2 separate regions of the Homo sapiens genome follow, and region 2 is linked to region 1. Evidence: promoter capture Hi-C in 16 types of primary human blood cells and fetal thymus (Javierre and others, 2016). All regions are on one chromosome and are shown on one strand. Each heading gives the region's core, a stretch centred on a gene start or on the middle of the fragment in contact. The rest is flanking DNA. Distances are from core to core; before and after follow the strand shown. Region 1 holds the start of MAPK8 (mitogen-activated protein kinase 8). Region 2 overlaps SGMS1 (sphingomyelin synthase 1).

Region 1 (4,189 bases), core at 871-3,370:
CAAACATTTCAAGTAAACATTTCTAAAATATTAGAAATATTTCTAATAAAACATTTATGTGGTTTTGTCCTCAATTTTCCACAATAAGAGTCACCAAAAAACTTTCAAATAATATTCACAAAATTATAAATGCAATCATTTTAGACCCCTACTGAAATACCAGTTTATGAGTGCCTGTGTGTGGATTACGTACATGCACACACACGGACACACATAAACTAGCACATACACAGAAACACACACTCCACAACCTACTTTATTTATCATATTAAAAAAATATTTAGACAAGATTTTATTTTAGGACAGTGAATGACCTACACGTGATTCAAAAGCCCATGTCATCATAACAGATAATGTACATGAACTGACCATTTAGCCATCTGATGCGACAGTTGCATGAAGCTTCCAAAACTTTATGGAGAACATTACGGTTTTTTTTAAGGCTTGATTTTAAATATTATCAATTACAAAGAGCTTTTCATCAATCCGACTTTTATTGAACACTTACTATATTCCAGGCTAGGTGGTGGAGAAACAGATGCAAGACAGGCCTGCCCTCAAGGAAGTCCCATTTTGATTGCTTGCTTTTGTCAGGCACAGCACTAAACATGTTCACTTAGAGCATCTGACCTCCTAGGTTTAACGTTAACCACAGCAGGGGAATCTGAGGTAACCATTACAAATGACTGTAAGGCTGCAAGACTGGAAAAAATAAAATTTAGAAATAAATAAAAGCTGTTGTATATTTAGACCAAATCTAATTCTACTTCCTATTACACTTGAACTTCCAGATATACTGCTTAAAAAATGACCCAGAATATAACCATACCTTCCTTAACAGACATCACTTATGTAACTGTCTCATTTAAAGGTCCATCTATTATACTTCAGTCAAAGCATCCTCTTCCATGAAAGGATACTTTACCTTCACACCAAACCTCTTCATCTGAGTACGGTACTAAACAGCTGCTGAATGAATGAATGAATGAAAAAACAGATGTTCTAATTGCCAAGGAGGTACTTGCTGGATGCTTATCTCAAAACACAATGGACTGACGGACCAGAATTCTACTGGAAAGATCGCTGGATTTCAGAGGTAAAAATAGTAATCACTGGACAATGCCATGTAGTCAACATGTTATTAAATTCGCAGTAAAGACCAAGCAGGGAACTTTCAGAAATAAAAACGGAAAGTGTTCATCAGGGTACTTTAAAATGGACTTGGTTCTACCATCTCTGAATCGGGAACACAAATGCGAGACAAAGAGATGGGAGGGTGGGGTGAAAAAGTCAAAAGGTCACCACCGATGACCCTCAAGAGAAATGCGCGCTGACCACCGAAGCTCGGGCCAAGCTGGATGGACACCTCCCACCCGAGCCACGGGCCTGGGCTCTCTGCCCTGCAGCCCAGAGCTGCAGGCCACTCTGGCCCTTTTCAGCGCTGCTGCCTGCGTTCGCCCAGAACGTTAGCACAAAGAAAGCATCGAGAAGCAAAATACGGTCCCTATGGGCGCGGGGCAGGCTTGGGGACCTGCCGGCAGAAGCGCTCTCCCCGGCTCCCCGCCGCCCCGGAGGCAGCCAGGGCGCGGCGGGCCGCAAAGACACCTCCGTCCGACCCTTGCCGAAGTGTTTCAGAACTTGCCACCCACCCCCCCGCTCCATTTTCTTCTCCCGCCGCGGAGGCAGGACCCACGCGAAGAGGACGCGAGAGGACAGGCGGGCGGGGCTCGCGGCGGCAGGCGGGCTGGCGGGCAGCGGAGCGCACCCAGGTCCCGCAGCCCCACGCCCCCTCGGCTGGCCCCCGCCTCCGCGCCGCTATTGTTCCCGCGCCGCCCCCGCCCACCGCGCGCTCCCGCCCCCACTCCCAGGAGGGGGTTACGGCTGAGGAGAAGGCGGCGGCGGCGGCAGCGGCACAATAACATAAACACGACGGGGCCGCCTGCCGTCCCGGCCCTGCGGCGTCCGCCGCACTCACCCGGCAGCGCAGCGAACGGCGACAGGGAAGCCCGCCAGCGGGGACAGGGGCCGTCCGGGGTGGTCGCCGCGGCCGTTACCCAGCGCTGCTCGCGGCTCCGCAATCCAAGCCGCGTCGTCCGGCCTCGGCCGCTCGGCTGAGTAACAGAGACGCGGGCCGTCACCGCGCACGCCCGCGCACGTCATCGCGCAGGGCCCCGCCCCCGCGCCTCCCGAGCGGCCGGCGGGGCGGGGCAGCCCCGGGGCCCGGATTGCGGGGGCGGGGCCGCCGCCCGGGGACGGCGCTACTCCAGGGGTTACGAGAGGACTTGCGGAGGTCGCTTGGAGGCGGAGCCGCGGAGAGAGCCTCCGAGGGCTGTGGGTGAGGGGCGTGGCCTGGAGCGGGAGGGGCGGGCCCTGTGGCGGCACGTGGCGGCGCGTGGCCCCAGGGGACCGCATCTGGTTGGCGGCGGTAGCCAGGTCAGAGCTTAAGCCTTCGGGCCTCGTCGGCACAGGGTTGAAGGGCAGGTGCGCTTAGGCCTAACCTGCGCAGCGAACAGGCACCCCCTTCCGGTACACACACCTGAGTGATGAAGAGCTGGTTACCTTGACCGACAATATGTTCCATTCTGAGGACACCTGTCCGGGTCCCAGAAACCTACAGAGAGATAAGTGTTCTCTTCAGCTGCCCGGGAAAAGCTGCCTCCAGTTTTTCCAAAATCCACCTCCTCCGAGATTCCTTGCAAATCCACCTCTTCCCAGATTCCTTGCATTACCTGGTTTACTTCTGAGGCCCCACAAAGCGTGTAAATGTTACAGAAGCGATAAATTGACAAGTCCTTTAAATATCCAACAACGGGTGGAAAGGCGTTTGAACTACCTACACCATTCGGTAGAATACATTTTAGCAATTTAAATGCCATGTGTTCAAGGAATTCTTAACAACATAGGAACATGTTCACAATGTATCATTAAGAGAAAGAAGCAAGAAACAAGTCATATATAGAATGGTCCCACTTAGATACTATATATACACATAGAAAAAACCTGGAAAGAAATACACCAAATTATGTTAACAATGGTTCATCATTGGACTATGGAATAAAGGGTGACTTGGTTCTCGTTTATACTTTGGGTATTTTCTCATGTTTTCCGAGAGGAATAGTTATGTTCACAATCAGAAACAAGTAAGTTACTTTAATAATGAATATATAAATATTTGTTGAATAAATGAATGATTTCAGGTAAACTACTTTCCTATTACATGTGGGGCTGGCCTGTTTCTGGTGATTCTGAAAGGGAACATACAGATGATTATTCATTCATTCTCTTCCCATTTCCTCTCTCCCTCCCTCTCAACCTTCTTAATTTCCTTCCTGCCATCCTTTGTTCCTGCAATAATTATTTATTGCATGCCCATTCAGTGCCAGGCAATACAGTAGAGTTTACAGATTTAATCACTGTACTATGAAAGTAATAATAGTAAACGCAAAATTATCACTGTTTTATAATACAAATTGTTAAGGATACATAATACTATGAAACCAATTAATACACTAGTTAATAAGGCCAGAAAAGATTTCCCTGAGGAACTGTCACTTGAGCTGGGAATAGGTTTGACTAGACAGAGAATATTTTAGAGGTAGCTTTGCACGCAAAGGTCCTCTGATGAGATTAAGCAGGATAAGATGGAGAAATTCAGGAAAGGCCAGCTCTGCTGGAGGAGCAAGGAAGAAGGAGCTATGAGATGAAGTCAGGAAGATTGGTAAAGGGACCAAACGTAGGACATCCATATTGGCCATGTTGAAAATCTTTTTATCCTAAGTGCAATGGGAAGCCCCTGACATATTCAGCAAAGGGTGTGGCATGGTCAGAATAGCTTCTTGAAAAGATTCCTTATTGGAAAGAGCCCAGGTGGATGTAGGAGTAGCCTAGACGGTAAGAGGTGGAAGCTTGATCTAGGGTGATGGTCATGGAAATAGTTGATGGACATGGAAAGATCTGTGAATTATTTAGGAGGTCCAACGGGCAGAACTTGCACATTCTCCAAGTGATGGGTTATGTGGGGCAATGAAGGAGAGGGAGTCATCAAGGAAAACTCAAAGGTTTCTGGCTTGTGGCCAAGGATGGATGTTAGTGCTGGTTTACCAAGATGGGAATCTTGGAAAAGGACCAGACTGGCATTAAAATATCATGAGAGCAGGCTGTTTGGCTGTTTGAAGGCTTTTGAGATGCC
Region 2 (4,189 bases), core at 1,211-3,710, 2.3 Mb before region 1:
GCAGGTTATGCAAACCTTCTGCACCTCAGTTTCCCCAACTCTCTGGTAGGTGTCATAACAGCAGCCATCTTACAGGGTTATTGTGGGGACTATATTAACATTTATAAGGTACTGAATGCCTGGCATGGTAACCACAACATAAATGTTAGCTGTTATTATGACAACTTTTGTTAATATTCATCACCTTCCTCCTGTACCTCTCTTGAGGTGTGTGAGGCTTTATGCCCCAGAATTGGATGGCTTTTGTCCGGAAAGACCTGGTTGGAGGCTGTACAAATTTATAGAATGGCTTTTTCCACATGTCGGCAGGCATTCAGTGGGCGCTCAGGTTGCAGACTGAACAAGTAAATACTGAAAGACAGTGGAGCCAGGTGCATTCTCTGTCATTCCTGGATGTCCTCACTCAGGGCTCTGGAATTGAGTGGGGAGAAAAAGTCAGGTGGTAAGCATTCAGGAAGCGAATTTTATTTTGCTATATTCCTAGTTCTGATTAGACCTTTTGGCAGAGATGTCGGAATCACAGGGATTCACACTTGTTGATGGCTAACTGCATGCCAGCCACTTTCTAAGTCCTTGACCCAATGAAATGGATATTGTCATCATACCTTTTTTGAGGACAAAGAGAGTGGGACAGAAGTAATTTGCCCAAGAAAGTAGGAAAAAGAATGCCCTGGAGTTTAGTGTTTGGGGCCTTTGCCAGGTGGCAGAAATAACAGAAGTAGGTACTGTTGGTGGAGAGCCAGTACCTTTACATAAAGCGTTGTAATACACAGGTTAGCCCAGCAGGGCATTCCCATGACCTCAGATGTTTATCAGGTGAAGCCAGTGGCTCTCAGATTTCAGCGTGTATCAGAATCACTCGAAGGCTGCTTACAACGCCCAGGGCTGGGACCCACCTCTGCCAGAGTTTCTGAGGCAAAGAGCTTGGGGCAGGTGGCAGTGGGCAGTTGACATGTCTAATGTGTTCCTGGATACTGTCATGCTGCTGGTCTGGGGACCACTCTTTGCCAACCACTGCCATCAGCAGTGCCCATGTCAGCGAGGAGCCAGCTGCTACTACTTCTAGTTACAGTCAGGTGGGATGATTTCAGATTTAGACATTGGAAGTGCCTTCCGCCTCATGAAATAAAAACTGAACTCATGTGGTCCTGTTTATCTAGGACAGCAGAGGGGTGTCTGAGCCAGTCCAGAGCAGAAACTTGCTTTTCCTGCTCACCAGTGGTTCTGGCATGGCTCAGGAGAGATGATCCCAAGGTGGAGAGAAAACTTGGAAATATAAGTCAGCACTCATTAGAAGCTTGGAGTGCCATCATTACATCCCATCTTAGGAAGATGGCCTCATTTATTTTTGTTATTTTTCATTCCCCCTTCCATTGGCAAAAAAAAAAAAAGAAAGACTTCCTGTTCACCACTTATCCCCATGGAGGAATTTAGGCACAGACAAATTAAAAGTATATTGAGATACATAACCTGACAGTGGAGAGGCAGAAGATAATCTTATTTGCCTAGTTTAATTATAGCAGAAAACTGTGTTTGTAGGAAAAAAGAGCTTTGTACAGCTTTCCTCCAGCTGCCACGAGGTCACATAGCTACAATGTGTACCAAGCTTAGTACAGCACCTACACACATTAAGCTCTCAAGAAGTATGAATAGTTATTATTATAGCAGAAGTTTTCTGTCTTGCAATCCAGGCTACACTTTTTCCTATTTGAAAGAATGTTACATATATAAAACCTCGGGACGAAAACCTTTTATAATTTAAATATTTTGTAGGAACTCAGGATTTAGAAAGAACTCGGAGGTGAACAATACAAGTAAGTTGTATTTGGGAAGGAACACTGGTTTAGATTTTTCTCTGTGCTAGTTATCAGGACTCTCCTGTGACCCTGTCAGCCTGTAACAGCTCGTTTGCTTGGTGAGGGAATGTGGCAGGGCAGAGAGGATGGGGGGATTGCCAGGGGCCGACTGAAGAGGCTAGAGAGGCCTGTTCAGGTGTGGAGACACTCTCCAGTCTGGTCATTTTATAACTCAGGGTTGACAGTGGCAGTAAATATGTGTTGAAAATCCCCTATGGGCCAGTTTCCCTGGTGAGCTTTGAGATACAGAGATGAGTGCGATGGGGTCTGGGTCTTTGAGGGATTAGTGGGGAGACAGACATGTCCACAGATGATGTCATCACCAAGTAGTGAGTACAGTATCAAAGCTGCACACCTAGCCTCCCTGGGTCAGGGGTGGGATGACTGGACAGAGGTCACCTGCCCAGTTTCCCTGTGTCAGCAGAGTGCACAGAAGGGAATCCATACCATAGGTCAGTGTAGATGGAGCCAGAAGTGGCATTTTTTTGGTTTTTATTTTCTTTTGTTTTAGGGTTGAAAGCCACATGAGGTTTTCATTTTTAGTGACATAATCCTGACAGCAGAGACAAGCCTAGGAAGATGTGTGCTATAAGTGGTCAGCCCCCAAAGGGAGAATCAGAGCTGGGACTGCACTTCAAAACTACTTGGGGAGTTACAAGAGTACTTAAGAGTTTACTTTCTTTGTTTTTAAAAAACGTGGCTATGAGGTCAGGAATTCGAGATCAGCCTGGCCAGCATGGTGAAACCCCATCTCTACTAAAAATACAAGAATTAGCCTGGCATGGAGGCGCACGCCTGTAATCCTAGCTACTCAGGAGCCCGAGGCAGGAGAATTGCTTGAATCCACGAAGCAGAGGCTGCAGTGAGCCGCGATCACGCCACTGCACTCCAGCCTGGGCGACAGAGCGAGGCTCTGTCTCAGAACAACAACAACAACAACAAACAACAAAGTGGCTAAATGTTAGCTGTCTGCTAGGAATGTAAAACCTGGAGAAGATTAACGACTTTCTATCTTTAAGATAAATCAACTTTTAAAAGAAAGACTCTATTAAAAACAAAGTTTTATTTTATTTTCCCTGAATTTTTGGCTAAGTGTGAAATTCCCCTTTCATTTGTGTTTTCAGTGGTTCCAGTTCCTTGTTTTCTTTTTTCTCCCCTCCACTCCTCCTTTTCGCCAGCTGCTTATTATTCATTAACAAAAGAAGCTGATTTCAGCACTACCTTCCCCAGTCCTATTTAATTTCATGTCCAGACCACTTTATAGAAATAGCAATAAGCTGTTTGCATTTCCCAGGTTGTAATGGATATTCCTTCTGGCAGGCTGTCTCCATTAAGGGAGCAAAATGTGGATGTTCAGTCTTCTAAAAGTTTCATGCAGGTATTCTATGTGAATCCATGAAGACGGGATGTTATAACAAATCTCAGGTTAAGGGGTGGAGGATCCTCAGCTAAGCTTGGCAGGTGGAAGATGCTTAAATTTGGAAGGGAGTTCCCAATAGTCACAGATGGAGATGGAGGGATTGAAGAAAAAAGCCCTGGGGCAGGATGGTAGAGAACAAACCTCAAGAAAACTATCTCCTAAGGAAGTGGTGGGGAGGGCTAGCTGAAGTGGTACCCACCCCACTGGCAGGGGGCTGGGTGAAAGCAGCAGAGGCAGGAGAAATCAGGACTGGGAGGGAGATAGGGTGGGAAGGCAGGCTTTGCCCACAGCTTCTTTCCCCCTAACAGACACAGGCTGACAGTTTAGGCAGGAGTTGGAAAAGGGGATGGGGGGTGCCAGTGTGTCTGAGGCCAACAGAGAAGAGGAATGTTTTACTCCTGAGGAAACCAGGAGGGGAGAGGGAAGGGTGGAGGAAAGGCAGGGGGCAGCGGCAGGGATGAAGGTGCACAGGCAGGTGGAGGATGACTGGAGAGCAGAGATGCTTGGGATGCTGGAGAAAAGGCCATGGGACCAGAAGAGGATTGTGAAAGAAACAGTCTGTATAGAGGACCCACGGCCTTCAGCCCAAGTCAGGCTGTCCTGGTCATCTGAGACAGAGGCAGAGTAGGTGAGGGCAGTGAGGAAAGATGCTGCTGGCTGTCCAAGCACACTGGTGAGGTAGTAATGCAATTTCTGAGCCATTTGTAAGATGTCAGGACACCCAGGGTCTTCTAGATAACAGGAACTGGGAAGGCAAGGACCCAGGGGCCCTGATTTTGAAAGCCAGCTGAGGAGTGATGAAGAACAGTGGGCTTGGGTTTAAATCCTTTTGGGGCAGTGGCTTTCTCATGTGAAATGGGGATAATAACCACTCTGTCACAAGTGTCGTGGTGTGAAGACCCTTGGCGTGTGT

Evidence for each region. Contacts are between HindIII fragments. The CHiCAGO score rates a contact against its expected background, and 5 or more counts as called.
Region 2: a contact is called between a fragment that was not itself captured here and the fragment with the promoter of MAPK8 in region 1, in 1 of 17 cell types (total CD8 T cells). The highest score is 5.5, in total CD8 T cells.

Annotation. Positions count from the first base shown.
Region 1 is chr10:48,304,608-48,308,796 of GRCh38, reverse strand. It overlaps MAPK8 (mitogen-activated protein kinase 8), which reads right to left and starts at 2,120. Exons shown (of 12, transcript NM_001323329.2): 1 at 1,976-2,120. RefSeq lists a silencer at 1,540-2,489. The HindIII fragment of the contact is 3,503 bases long and covers 405-3,907 here.
Region 2 is chr10:50,611,314-50,615,502 of GRCh38, reverse strand. The region is part of intron 1 of SGMS1 (sphingomyelin synthase 1); the gene reads left to right. Among named protein-coding and RNA genes, the nearest start is that of SGMS1, 11 kb to the left of the region's middle. RefSeq lists a silencer at 697-826. The HindIII fragment of the contact is 1,703 bases long and covers 1,609-3,311 here.